Linked DNA regions of Homo sapiens: all the other regions are linked to region 5. The links are contacts of gene promoters, found by promoter capture Hi-C in human tissues and cell types (Jung and others, 2019). All regions are on one chromosome and are shown on one strand. The core of a region is centred on a gene start or on the middle of the fragment in contact, and the rest is flanking DNA. Distances in the headings are between cores, read along the strand shown.

Region 1 (2,700 bases), core at 3-2,502, 750 kb after region 5:
GACTACAGATACACCCCACCATGCCTGGATAATTTTTTTAAACTTTTTGTAGAGACAGAGTCTTGCTATGTTGGCCAGGCTGGTCTTGAACTCCTAGGCTCAAGTGATCCTCCAACCGCAGCTTCCCAAAGTGTTGGGATTACAGGCATGAGTCACTGCACCTGGCCTCCATCCCTATTTAAAACAAAAAAAGAAAAAAGAAAGAAAGAAAACCAAACCAAACCAAAAAAAAACGTTGTCACGGATGACCTTGGCCGGAGGGTAAGCAGTTGGTGGTGCAGGAGGCATTGCTGACGATCATGAGGTTTTTGTATCTCTCATGGTTCATGTCCATCACAAACATGGGGGCATGGGCAGAGGGGGCAGAGATGGTGATCCCTTTGGCTGCCCATCCTAAGCGAGCCCCAGCCTTCCCCATGGTCGTGAAGATGCTGCTGGTGGACTCCATGACATAACCAGTGCCAGCATCGTCACCCAATTTGATTTTGCTGGGATCTGGCTTCTAGAAGATGGGGATGAGATTCCCATTTCCTATTGATGACAAGCTTCCCTTCTCTTTCTCAGTCTTTTCTTTTCTTTTTTTTTTTTTTTAAGAGAGAGAGGATCTCCCTATGTTGCCTAGGCTGGTCCTGAACTCCTGGTCTCAAGTGATCCTCCCACCTCAACCTCCTAAGTAGCTGAGATTACAAGCATGAGCCACCACACCCAGCCCACTTCTCAGCTTTGATGGTGCCGCGGAACTTGCCGTGGGTAGAATCATATTGGAACATGTAGACCATGTAGTTGAGGTCAATGAAGGGGTCATTGAGGTGACAACATCCATTCTGCCAGAGTTAAAAGCAGCTCTGGTGCCCTGGTGACCAGGCACCCAATATGGCCAAATCCATTTACTCCTGTCTTCACTTTCACCACGGTGTCTCGGGGACATGCCTTTTTCACTGCATGAAAAGATGTGGCTGTCTGTCAAATGGGAGGAGCAGAGAGGCTCTGCCTTTTTAATCTTTAAGAAAAAAAATTCAGGCTGGGCATGGTGGCTCACGCCTGTAATCCCAGCACCTTGGGAGGCCAAGGCAGGCGGATCACAAGGTCAGGAGATCCAGACCATCCTTACTAACATGGTGAAACCCCGTCTCTACTAAAAAATACAAAAAATTAGCTGGGCGTGGTGGCGGGCACCTGTAGTCCCAGCTACTTGGGAGGCTGAGGCAGGAGAATGGCGTGAACCCGGGAGGCGGAGCTTGCAGTGAGCCAAGATCGCGCCACTGCACTCCAGCCTGGGTGATGGAGCAAGACTCTGTCTCAAATAATAATAATAATAATAATTTAGATGGGGTCTCACTGTGTCACCCAGGCTTGTCTCAAACTCCTGGGCTCCAGTGATCCACCCACCTCAACCTCCCAAAGTGCTGGGATTACAGGTGTGAGCCACCACACCCGGCCTATTATTATTATTTGAGACAGTCTTGCTCTTGTCGCCCAGGCTGGAGTGCAGTGGCACGATCTTGGCTCACTGCAACCTCTGCTTCCCGGGTTCAAGCGATTCTCCTGCCTCAGCCTCCCGAGTAGCTGGGATTACAGGTGGCTGCCACCACGCCCAGCTAATTTTTTTTGTATTTTTAGTAGAGATGGGGTTTCACCTTGTTGGTCAGGCTGGTCTCAAACACCTGACCTCAGGTGATCCGCCCACCTCAGCCTCCCAAAGTGCTGGGATTACAGGCGTGAGCCACTGCTCCTGGCCCTGTCTTTTAATTTTTAAAGGGTAGGGGGCACCATGACCCATCTTTGCCCACCTAAACCACCTATTCAGCAGCCCATGCCCCGCAGCCCACAGCTGGGGGACATCATGCAAAATCTAAGTCAGATCTGTCCCTCTGATCAGAACCCTCTGTGGCTCCCACCTTACCCAGATAAAAGCCCCCTTCCCTGCAGCCCCCAAGAGCACACGCAACCTGCCCCACCCACACCCTTCTCTGTTCCTTGCCCTTGACCTTGCAGACTCAACCTTCCGGATTCACTTCCCCCTTGCTCACTCTGCTCCAGCCACAAAAGCCAATTTTTGGTTCCTCAAATCAAACTAACTCATGACAGCATTTTGAATTTTGAAGCCTTGGGGCCCCGAAAAAGTCCATCTTTTTTTTTTTTTTTTAAGATCGAGTCTCACTGTGTTGCCCAGGCTGGAGTGCGGTGGTGTGATCTCGACTCACTGCAACCTCTGCCTCCCTGGTTCAAGCAATTCTCCGGCCTCAGCCTCCCAAGTAGCTGGGATTACAGGTGCTCGCTGCCATGCCCAGCTAATTTTTTTGTATTTTAGTAGAGAAAGGGTTTCACCTTGTTGCCTAGGCTGATCTTGAACTCCTGAACTCAGGCAATCTGTCTGCCTCAGCCTCCCAAAGTGCTGGGATTACAGGCGTGAGCCACTGCGCCCGGCCCAAAAATCCATCTTTGTGGGTTCCTTTGTAAATGTGTAGTCAATTTAGAAATTTAGAAACACGGTTTCCCTTAAGCCTTTATTTAGTTACAATCACAACTAACATGTTACTTATACACCTGGCAAAGTGAAACATCAAAAAATTAATTCAGGGCCTGGCCTCAGGCCTGTAATCCCAGCACTTTGGGATGCCAAGGCAGACGGATCACTTGAGGTCAGGAGAATCGCTTGAACCTGGGAGACGGAGGTTGGGACGAGCTGAAGATCACACC
Region 2 (2,732 bases), core at 133-2,632, 550 kb after region 5:
TACACATATTATACATTTAAGCATATACACATGGAAGCTCCTGGGAGTTGGTTATGTTTACATGGTGGAAAAAAAACCCTTCAAAATAATTATTAGTTTGAGAAAAATACATCAATAAATAATTTCTACGTCAACACATTGTTTTTTGTTGTTGTTGTTGTCGAGATGGAGTCTCGCACTGTTGTCCAGGCTGGAGTGCAGTGGCGCCATCTCGGCTCACTGCAGGCTCCACCTCCTGGGTTCATACCATTCTCCTGCCTCAGCCTCCCGAGTAGCTGGGACTACAGGCGCCCGCCAACACGCCCAGCTAATTTTTTGTATTTTTAGTAGAGACGAGGTCTCGCCGTGTTAGCCAGGATGGTCTCGATCTCCTGACCTCAGGTGATCCACCCTCCTCGTCCTCCCAAAGTGCTGGGATTACAGGCGTGAGCCACCGCTCCCGGCCTTGTCAACACATGTTATATGTAAAAAAGCTAATCAAATGTGAGCTTCCAACAATTCCCTCTGCTTCATTCTTCTGACTTTCAACAGATCATGGTTAACACCAAGGGCTCTGTGTCTGAGGTTTCACATGTTTACGTCACCTATTTTAAATGGTCTCAACCTCACTCCACCACCACTGACCCATCAAATCATTTCCGCAGCTAAATCCGAAGTATTCTGTAAATAGCTTTCCCTTTCAAGGAGTCTAACTGGACTCAGGTTGAACTCCCTTGTGGCTCTCTCATGTTCCTTGATTTATTCATTTGAAATTGTCTTCCAGAGCCGGGCGCGGTGGCTCATGCCTGTAATCCAAGCACTTTGGGAGGCCGAGGCGGGTGGATCACGAGGTCAGGAGATCGAGACCATCCTGGCTAACACGGTGAAACCCCGTCTCTACTAAAAATACAAAAAATTAGCTGGGCGTGGTGGCGGGCGCCTGTAGTCCCAGCTACTCGGGAGGCTGAGGCAGGAGAATGGTGTGAACCCGGGAGGCGGAGCTTGCAGTGACCCGAGATCACGCCACTGCACTCCAGCCTGGGTGACAAAGCGAGACTCCGTCTCAAAAAAATAAATAAATAAATAGTCTTCCAGGAGAGATTGTGATATACTAAGTGAGGACCTCATCCATTTTATTTGCTTCTCTTCTCCCTAACCTGCTACACTACTTCTTCATTGAAGGCACAGAATATTTTAAACTGACCATCACTTGCTGTAAATTCTGGAGATCTCAGCACAATTCAGAAATCCACACCCTAAAGGAGTTATGTGTGGATGTTAATGCCATCCTCACCACGAGAGGGAGTTCGTTGTCTCTTTTTCTGCAAATCGGTGCAAAGCAGTTTTTTTTTTCTTTTGAGACGAAGTTTCGCTCTTGTTGCCCAGGCTGGAGCGCAATGGTGCGATCTCGGCTCACTGCAACCGCTGCCTCCCGGGTTCAAGCGATTCTCCTGCCTCAGCCTCCCGAGTAGCTGGGATTACAGGCGCCTGCCACCACGCCCGGCTAATTTTTGTATATTTAGTAGAGACGGGATTTCACCATGTTGACCAGGCTGGTCTTGAACTTCTGACCTCAGGTGATCCACCCTCCTCGTCCTCCCAAAGTGCTGGGATTACAGGCGTGAGCCACCGCGCCCGGCTTTCTTTCTTTTTTTTTAAATCTACGGGATAACACTTCATAAAAGTAACAGTGACACTATTCAGTTTGGTTCATTTATATGATTTGACTTTTCATAGGTTGTTAAGAAAGCAGTAAAGTCTGTGAACCTAATCGGATTTCCCTGACTCTGAAAAGTGTATTAAAAAAAATGTATATATGGAAAGGAGTAACTGAGGTGACAGAAAGACTTGCTGAGGAGGTGACATGTGGGATGGGACCTGAAGTAATGTATTAGTATAAAAAGTCAGGTCAGAGGATTCAAGGAAGATGGCAGAATAAAAAGCATGAAGAATCTGTATCCCCCACCTGGATTTGCATTGGCAGAATCCAACTCATGTAGCTATTTTGAAACTGCGGATACTATTAAAAGCTTGCAGCTTCCAGGGAAATAATTGGCTAATAAAATTGGGTTAATTTCGGTCAATTTCAACTCTTAGTTGAGTCAGCAGCCCTGACTCATTCCCCCTCCTCAGCTCCATGACAGGTAGCTATGCATAAGTTCTAACAGCAGTCTGCATGCAGTTTTGGGGGGCCAGGGTGGACAAAAAGGACCTGTCTTCCAAATATTGGGGATCTGCGCACTGCTTGATAATTGTTGCTTCTGATCACAGAGTTACAGACAAAGAAGTGGTGGTGACTGTTGCTGCTGCATCTCTCTCCATTTTTTGAAGGCCCTTCCCCTCCATCTGAAGTGACTTCCAGGCTGGTGCCTTTTATTTTTCCCTTAATGCTTTTATTCCTCTCCTTTTGAGAGCCACTGAAGATTAGGTTGTGCAAAAATAACCATACATGCAGAGAAAATTAGACAGTTACCACACATGCCCAGGGACAGGTGCAACTAAGAAAAGACCTGAGAAGAACTTAAGTTTACACCTTAGGCTGTTCCTCAGCCCACAGACACCTGACAATAGTGTTATTTTAAAACTATCTTATATATTTTCTTTTATTGATACATATTTTACATATATATAAGGTACACATGAGCATTTCTTGCATGCATAGAATGTGTAATGGTCAAGTCAGCGTATTTGGGGTATCCATGATCTTGAGTATTTACCACTTCTATGTGTTGGTAACATTTCAAGTCCTCTCT
Region 3 (2,700 bases), core at 59-2,558, 570 kb after region 5:
GTGGTTGAAGGTATCACATGGAGAATGGGCTGAATGTGGTAGCTCAGGTTCCCTTCTTTTTTAATATGGCCATCAGTCCCACTCCTGAGATAACTCATTAATTCAGTAAGCCATGAATTCATGAATGGATTAATTTATTTATGAGGTCTGAACCCTTAAGATCTACTCACCTCTTAAAGGCCTCACCTTTCATTAGTGCCACATTGGCGATTATGTTTCAACAAGCATTTTGGAGGGGACAAACATTCAAACCTAGCAGTGAATGGCCGGGCGCGGTGGCTCACTCCTGTAATCCCAGCACTTTGGGAGGCTGAGGTGGGTGGATCACGAGGTCAAGAGATCGAGACCATCCTAGCCAACATGGTGAAACCCTGTCTCTACTAAAAATACAAAAATTAGCTGGGCATGGTGGTGTGCGCCTGTAATCCCAGCCACTCGGGAGGCTGAGGCAGGAGAATCGCTTGAACCCAGGAGGCGGAGGTTGCAGTGAGCCGAGATTGCGCCACTGCACTCCAGCCTGGAGACAGAGCAAGACTCTGTCTCAAAAAAAACAAAAACAAAAACAAAAACAAGCAAAAAACCTAGTAGTGAATGATCAGGTATGCTCCCTCTGCCAAGCATATCACAAAAGTTTGAACTCTCAGAGGGAACATAGGAGTTCAGCAGATACCATATTTTTTACATAGTTTAGGGACACTCATCCTCCATTATCGCTTATGTTGGTGAAGCCCCCTAACTAAATTTAGTTCCTAGATATAGTGAAAGGTTCAACTTTGTGAGCAAGCATTTGTAACAATATGCGGTCTCAGGACAGCTGATGTTAACTCTTCTGCCCATTAGGTAGGAGGACTTTGTCACATCAGGAATTACAAACATCCTGTACACATAGATATTAGGGGTGATCTAGGCAATAAATGTCACTCCTTTAACTCACCAAGGAGTGGCATTTTATAATTCGACTGTTATTTTACCAAACACGTTTAATTCTAGCATTAGAATTGCATTCTGGGAGAAAATGAGTTTAGAAAGAGGGTAAGAGTTGGATTACCGTGTCGTTGCATAAATGTTTGGACACCACAGCATCATGTGACATTTATGTAGTGAGTACAGATTCCCAGTGCTGTCAGTTTCAGCTTTCCTCCTCTGCACGTGTCGGGTGTTTCAGGACTCAGTGGCCTTTGAGGATGTGGCTTTGATCTTTTGCCTGGGAGGAGTGGGCTTTGCTGGGTCCATCATAGAAGAGTCTCTACAGAGATGTGCTACGGGAAACCATCAGGAACCTAGACTGTATAGGTAAGGGGGACATCATGTCTTTACTTAGTCAATTACGAATATTTGTTTCTTCGTCACCAATGCTGTTCAAAGATTTAGAATATAAAAGAAATACGTTTGACCCTTGAACAATGCAGGGATTAGGGGCACCAGCCCTCAATGCAGTCACAAATCTTCAAATAACTTTTTTCTCCCCCGCAACTTGACTACTAATAGCCTACTGTTGACCAGAAACCTTACTGGTAAGATATACATTCAATTAACACATATTTTATATGTCATATGCATTACATATTGTTTTCTCACAATAAACTAAGGCAGAGAAAAATGTTAATCAGAAAATCACAAGGAGAAAAAACTATATTTACTATTTCATTAAGTAGAAGTGGAGCATCATAAATGTTATCATCCTTATTGTCTTCACATTGAGTAGGCTGAATAAGAGGAGGGGTTGGTCTTGCTGTCTCAGTAGTAGCAGAAACTGAAGAAAATTTGTATGTAAGGAGATCTATGCAGTTCAAACCTGTGTTGTTGAAGAGTCAACTGTGGTTTGGTGAATAAATCATCCATAACTGCAGTCTACATAAAATCTTACATTTTTAATATAATTTTATTTTTATTTATTATTATTTTTTTTTTGAGATGGAGTCTTGCTCTGTCACCCAGGCTGGAGTGTAGTGGCACGATCTTGGCTCACTGCAGCTTCTGCCTCCTGGGTTCAACTGATTCTCCTGCCTCAGCCTCCCGAGTAGCTGGGACTACAGGCGCACGCCGCCATGCCCGGCTAATATTTTTTTGTATTTTTTAGTAGAGACGGGGTTTCACTGTGTTGCCCAAGCTTGTCTCGAACTCCTGAGCTCAGACGATCCACCCACCTCGGCCTCCCAAAGTGCTAGGATTACATGCGTGAACCACCGCCCCCGGCCTCAATGTAATTTTATAATAATATATAGTGATTCTTCTGGGTCTACATTTTAGGAATGAAATGGGAAGACCAAAACATTAAAGATTAGTACAAAATTCCCAGAAGAAATCTAAGGTAATTTGCCCTAGGAAGAGAAAGATATGTCTTTGGAATAATTCTTAAAGTGACAGGAAATTTTTCACACCTATAATTCCAGCACTTTGAAAGGGTGGGGGGGTGGGGCGCAGTTCAGGAGGTCGGGAATTCGAGACCAGTCTGGCCAACATAGTGAAACCCTGTCTCTACTAAAGATACAAAAAATTAGCCAGGCGTGGTGGTGTGAACCTGTAGTCCCAGCTACTTAGGAGGCTGAGGCAGGAGAATCGCATGTACCCGGGAGGAGGACGTTGCAGTCAGTCGAGATCATGCCATTGCACTCCAGCTCAGGCGAAAGTGCAAGACTCCGTCTAAAAAAAAAGACAGGAAAATTTTAAAACAAGCAAAATAAATAAATAAATAAATAA
Region 4 (2,707 bases), core at 192-2,691, 520 kb after region 5:
CCAGGCTGGTCTTGAACTCCTGACTTCCTGATCCGCCCGCCTCGGCCTCCCAAAGTGCTGGGATTACAGGCGTGAGCCACCGCGCCCGGCCCTAAACTCTTTAATTGTTAACGTACCTCAGTTTAATTTTTAACAGAAAAAAGTGGGCACTGGGGACCCCAAAGACCGCTACTCCTCCCACACGAACCTGTCAGAGATGATAAATTACTTTTCTAAAAGCTTTAGTAAGCTGTTCTTTGTTTCTTGAGACCGACTTCCTTGTCTCCTAGCTACCTGTTCTGTAAACAACCTTCCCGCTTTTGCCGCGCCCAGACAAGTCCAGATACGCCTTCCCGCCTAGTAACGGACAGTCCCTGTTCCTTCCCGTCTCATAGACCCTATTTAATTTGTGTGTGTGTGTGTGTGTGTGTGTGTGTGTGTGTGTGTGTGACGGAGTTGCCCAGTTGTCTCGCTCTGTTGCCCAGGCTGGAGTACAGTGGTGCGATCTCGGCTCACTGCAAGCTCCACCTCCCGGGTTCACGCCATTCTCCTGCCTCAGCCTCCCGAGTAGCTGGAACTACAGGCGCCCGCCACCATACCCAGTTAATTTTTTTGTATTTTTAGTGGAGACGGGGTTTCACCGTGTTAGCCAGGGATGGTCTCGATCTCCTGACCTCGCGATCCGCCTGCCTCGGCCTCCCAAAGTGCTGGGGTTACAGGCGTGACCCACCGCGCCTGGCCAGACCCTATTTAATTTTAAACCTTAGCCTATCGAGTTAGTTTAGATTGTGAGGTCCAACCCTAGCCAATGAGGAAAGGACACAGAAGTGCTAGAAACTGCGTTAAGGAGAAAAACCCCTGCCCTACCCCGCTCGCTGTGCTCTTGTGACTGGCGCAAGCTGCACCCTTGTGTAGAAATAAATTTGCTTTGCTGAGGAATTTTCTGCCTAGATGCTGGTTTTCTTTGCGGCACCGGGCACTTGTTTCTAACAAACCCCATATCCGAGGCGGGATCCCCCCATATCCCTCCCGTGGCCCCCGCATAATGTGGGGAGACGCGGAGCTGCCCAGATTAGGCTCCGGAGCCGGGGCCGCAGTCGCCGTGAAGGGACGGGACAGGAGGCCCGGGGTCCCGGCTGCCGGCCCAGCCCCACCCTGCGACCGAGGGGACTCGCGTCCACGACCCCGGAGTCGCCGCGTGGAGGCCCGGGTCCCGCCTCAGCCGGTTCCGGCCGATTCCAGCCCCTCTCCCAGTCGCCCGGACGCCAGCCCCCTCACACACACCATTTCTCGGCTTCCAGGGTGTTCCGGCGTCCTCTGCGTGGCTCCCGCGACTAGTGTAGGTCACAGTGCAGGTTACAGAGCGACAGAAGCTCTGGTGGAGGCACCTAGTCCCTCTCGAAGCAAGAAAGCCGAGATCCTGACCGCTGTCGGCGCAGCACTAAAGGAATGGACGGAGGGCGACTGTCCCTTCCCCCTTCCCCGGATGGACAGTTGACAGGGCCCCGCCCCAGCACCCCTGATTGGATGGGGCGCCAGGCCCCGCCTCCTCCGTGCTGAGTGACAGCAGAAGCCCTGGGTAACCGGGTCCTGCAGATCATGTCTGACTTGTTCTGGCCACAGCGTCTCTGAGCGAGCAGCCTCTCTAAGCGAGCAGCCTCTCTAAGCGAACAGCCTCTCTAAGCGAGCGCCTTCCTTGAGCCCTGGTCATCAGATATTTGCATTTCAAGGCGACTTGCTCCTTATTGTTAGAAGAGGCACTGTTAGCTTCCTCATTCAAGGGGCTGTCCCTGCTCCTTCCTTCTGCACGGGATCACAAGTGTGTGCAGGGCATTTCAGACTCAGTGTTCAATGGAGAGATACGCTTGCCTCAGAGCAGGAGGGGAGCCCAGACCAGGCAAGGCACGACTGCACCAGGAGAGAGAGGCAGATGTCTTCCAGCGTGCGGGAAATGGGATGAGGCATGGCCAAGGCTTCCTCACACTGCTATGGACTCCAGCAAGGTTTTCCTTGTAAGGGAGCTAACCAAGCCAGAACTTATTAAAGATTTAGAGGCTCTCAGTACTATGTATATCTATCCCTGGTGCATTGACAGTGACTGAAGACCCATTTTTCAGGACATGCTGTGTAGGACTGAGCCAGGGAACATGATATAGCATGGCACTTTTATCTCACATATAACCCCCAAGGAGCAGGGTTAACTGAAATGAAAGATGGTCTCAGGGGAAGCTGTAAATGAGAAATTCTGTCATAGAAATTATGATTTAGGCAGGCCGGGCGCGGTGGCTCATGCCTGTAATCCCAGCACTTTGAGAGGCTGAGGCAGGTGGATCACGAGGTCAGGAGTTCAAGACCAGCCTGGCCAACATGGTGAAATCCTATCTCTACTAAAAATACAAAAATTAGCCAGGAATGGTGGCGCATGCCTGTAATCCCAGCTACTTGAAAGGCTGAGGCAGGAGAATTGCTTGAACCGGGAGGCAGAGTTTGCAGTGAGCCAAGATCGTGCCACTGCATTCCAGCCTGAGACACAGTGAGACTCCATCTCAAAAAAAAAAAAATTATGTTTTAGCCATCTTTTTTTGAGACGGGGTCTCACTCTGTCGCCCAAGCTGGAGTGCAGTGGTGCGATGGCTACTCAATGCAGCCTCAACCTCCCAGACTCAAGCAATCCTCCCACCTCAGCCTCCTAAGTAGGTGGGACTACAAGTGCCTGCCACCATGCCTG
Region 5 (2,700 bases), core at 181-2,680:
AGGGAGAGAAATGGAGCCCCCTTTGGTGCTTCCTCAGCAGCCTGCGCACGCCTCCACGTAGCACGAAGCTGCACATAGAATCAGAATTTACCATTTATGTGTTAGGAAAATCTGGGTAAAGGGTTTATGAATTTGACAGTTTATGTAGGTCAGTACCTTAAAGTAACCTTTTTTTTTTTTTTTTTTTTTTTTTTGAGACCAGGTCTCACTCTGTCACCCAGGCTGGAATGCCGTGGCACGATCTCGGCTCACTGCAACCTCCGCCTCCCAGGTTCAAGTGATTCTCCTGCCTCAGCCTCCCGAGTAGCTGGGATTACAGGTGCCCGCCACCATGCCCAGCTAATTTTTGTATTTTTAGTAGAGATGTGGTTTCACCATGTTGGCCAGGCTGGTCTCCAACTGGTGACCTCAGGTGATTCACCCGCCTCGGCCTCCCAAAGTGCTGGGATTGCAGGCGTGAGCCACCGCCCCGGGCCCTTAAACTAACTTTACATGAAACTTTCCTGTTGGTGAAAATGCACATCTTGACGGTGGGGGCATTTCCACACTCTGCAGAGGGCACAGGGAAGTATGTTGAGCTCCCAGAGTCAAATCCTTCAGTGTCCCAGTCTCATCACCAGGTTTTGGTTCACTCTGGGGTTCCATTTCAACAGTTAAGAGTGGCTGCCAAGTTTGGGCATATGTTTAGCCTCCTGAATGGGACGTTTGCTGAAGTATGAGGGCAGCAGGCTGCTTATCTGCACTAGTTCAAGTTTTTGCTTTTTTTTTCCTGTTGTATTTTTGTTTTGATTCATTCATTCATTTATTGCTGCCGTGTGATTTCAGTTCTTCCACACATTTGATATTTTAATACCGTTCTTGACTTGTTTTTATTTCCTTGGCTGAAAATGAGCAGATTGAGAGGCAAGGTGAGAGAGGAAGGCTTAACCTTGCCGCCAAGAGTCTCATCCTCAAATCCTGATGCCCGGTGGACATCAGGCCACCCTCCTGCTGCAGTGTGGCCTGTGTGGCCTTGGGCTCCCCTCTGCTCTGAGGCCAGGGGAATGGCTCCACTGGACTGTGAGTCTGGGATTCCCTGCAAAACACTTGTGACTCCTTCTCCAGGAGGAAAAGGCAGTAAGGGCCTGCTGAGTACGGGCAGGTAATTCTGCATAAATGCAAATGTTCCCTGGGAGGGATCAGGACAGCACAGGGAGGAAGCCTGCCCTGTCAAGGGCTGTGCCTGGAACTCGTTCATCCCGCTCGACTCAGCACTGTGTGATCGCTTCTTCTGTCACTCAGTGCCCAGGGGGCGGGACCTGGAGCCCTATCCAATCAGAGCTATGGGGCGGGGTCGTGAGAACTGTCAATCAGGCGCACGGCTGGCAGTAGGGTGCCAGGTTCAAAGAGCCCGCGGCGTCTTCACGCCCCTGCGCTCAGCTCTAGACTCAGTCGCTCGCTGAGAGACGCCCTGGAACGTCTGTGTAGCCTCAGTCGCTGAGAGACGCCCTGGAACGTCTGTGGCAGCCTCTGTCACAGTGGGACCCGCACTGGCAGCGGGAGGCAGAGGGAGGACCCTGGAACATCCCGGAAGCCGGGAAATGGTGCGTGTGCAGGGTCAGGCGTCCCAAAAGTGGGAAAGAGCTGGTTGGAACCGTCCAGAACCGGCCGCGGCGAACGTGGGCCTCCCCCGCCGTCAGCTCCGGGGTCTGGGACCCGAGTCCCCCTGGCGCAGCTCGACCCTCGGTCCCCTCAGCCACAGAGTGAGGCTGAGCTGGCAGCCGGGACCCCGGGCGTCCTATCCGGTCCCTGCGCGGCAACTGCGGTCCCGGCCTCGGAGCCCTGTCTGGGCAGCTCCTCGCCCGCAGCCCCCCATCTCCCCAGGATTGGGGGAGGGTCACGGAAGGGTCATGGAGGGAATCCCCACTCGTGTGTGGGGTTCGTGCCTGTGAGGAGCTGTGATCTGTGGGATCCTCAGTCTCTGTTTTCTTCCTAAAGGGGACCGGTGTCCCTCTGAGTCTTCAAAGGTTTGGGAAGGCAGATGTCTAATGCTTATCTTGTCCCCTCACCCTAACTCCTGGGGCTGGCAGTAAATCCCTAGATTTCCAGATTTTGCCCTGCATTTCATAAAGCTGACTTCCTCTCCGTCACAGGGGAACGACTGCTATCTGGGCCGGTAACGCCGGGGTAAAATAATTTTTACTAAGACAGTTGTAGGTAAAGTTATTAGCGAAAGAAGCAAAATCCATCGCAAGGGAGGCCATGGGAAGCCTGCAGGAGAGAAGCAGAGGCTTGTGGGTGATTTTATAGAATGGAACTTGGGCTGATTGATAGTGCCAAGGCAGCAGAGTGCCAAGGCAGCAGGGAGCTTAACTTGCATTCCTCTGTCAGCCCCGGTGTTTGATAAATTGAGGCGTTTGATGGTGAGCAGGAAGTCTGTGAATTAAGTGCGTTATCTGGGCAAGAAGGCCATGTCTTGGGCCATAAAGAAAGTTAGACATGTACAGGAGTTCCAGACCAGCCTGGCCAAGATGGCGAAACCCCTTCTCTACTAAAAATACAAAAATTAGCCAGACGTGGTGTCACATGCCTGTAATCTCAGCTACTCGAGAGGCTGAGGCAGGAGAATCGCTTGAACCCATGAGGCGGAGGTTGCAGTGAACTGAGATCACGTCACTGCACTCCAGTCTGGGCCGGCGACAGAGAGAGACTCCGTCTCAA

The links. The method cuts DNA at HindIII sites, captures the fragments that hold promoters and counts their contacts. A contact is called where the count stands out against the background at its distance.
Region 1: a contact is called between a fragment that was not itself captured here and the fragment with the promoter of ZNF563 in region 5, in 1 of the 25 tissues and cell types used here (dorsolateral prefrontal cortex).
Region 2: a fragment that was not itself captured here is called in contact with the fragment with the promoter of ZNF563 in region 5 in 2 of the 25 tissues and cell types used here (IMR-90 fibroblasts and mesenchymal stem cells).
Region 3: a fragment that was not itself captured here is called in contact with the fragment with the promoter of ZNF563 in region 5 in 3 of the 25 tissues and cell types used here (aorta, dorsolateral prefrontal cortex and lymphoblastoid cells).
Region 4: the fragment with the promoter of ZNF440 here is called in contact with the fragment with the promoter of ZNF563 in region 5 in 1 of the 25 tissues and cell types used here (psoas muscle).

The regions. Positions count from the first base shown.
Region 1 is chr19:11,583,458-11,586,157 of GRCh38, reverse strand. It overlaps LOC124904638 (a long non-coding RNA gene), which reads right to left. Exons shown (of 2, transcript XR_007067140.1): 2 at 2,494-2,700. It also overlaps the pseudogene GAPDHP76. Among named protein-coding and RNA genes, the nearest start is that of ACP5, 7.2 kb to the right of the region's middle. RefSeq lists enhancers at 2,064-2,123, 2,134-2,273. The HindIII fragment of the contact is 7,524 bases long and covers 1-2,700 here.
Region 2 is chr19:11,783,899-11,786,630 of GRCh38, reverse strand. ZNF441 (zinc finger protein 441) reads right to left here. Exons shown (of 4, transcript NM_152355.3): 4 at 2,553-2,732. Among named protein-coding and RNA genes, the nearest start is that of ZNF491, 13 kb to the left of the region's middle. The HindIII fragment of the contact is 7,851 bases long and covers 1-2,732 here.
Region 3 is chr19:11,758,399-11,761,098 of GRCh38, reverse strand. No RefSeq gene overlaps it. Among named protein-coding and RNA genes, the nearest start is that of ZNF441, 7.3 kb to the left of the region's middle. The HindIII fragment of the contact is 5,499 bases long and covers 1-2,700 here.
Region 4 is chr19:11,813,007-11,815,713 of GRCh38, reverse strand. It overlaps ZNF440 (zinc finger protein 440), which reads right to left and starts at 1,441. Exons shown (of 4, transcript NM_152357.3): 1 at 1,264-1,441. The coding sequence starts at 1,266. RefSeq lists silencers at 1,037-1,106, 1,527-1,606. The HindIII fragment of the contact is 18,958 bases long and covers 1-2,707 here.
Region 5 is chr19:12,332,363-12,335,062 of GRCh38, reverse strand. It overlaps ZNF563 (zinc finger protein 563), which reads left to right and starts at 1,430. Exons shown (of 4, transcript NM_145276.3): 1 at 1,430-1,583. The coding sequence starts at 1,581. RefSeq lists a silencer at 1,197-1,336 and enhancers at 509-1,374, 1,477-1,736, 1,967-2,076. The HindIII fragment of the contact is 22,494 bases long and covers 1-2,700 here.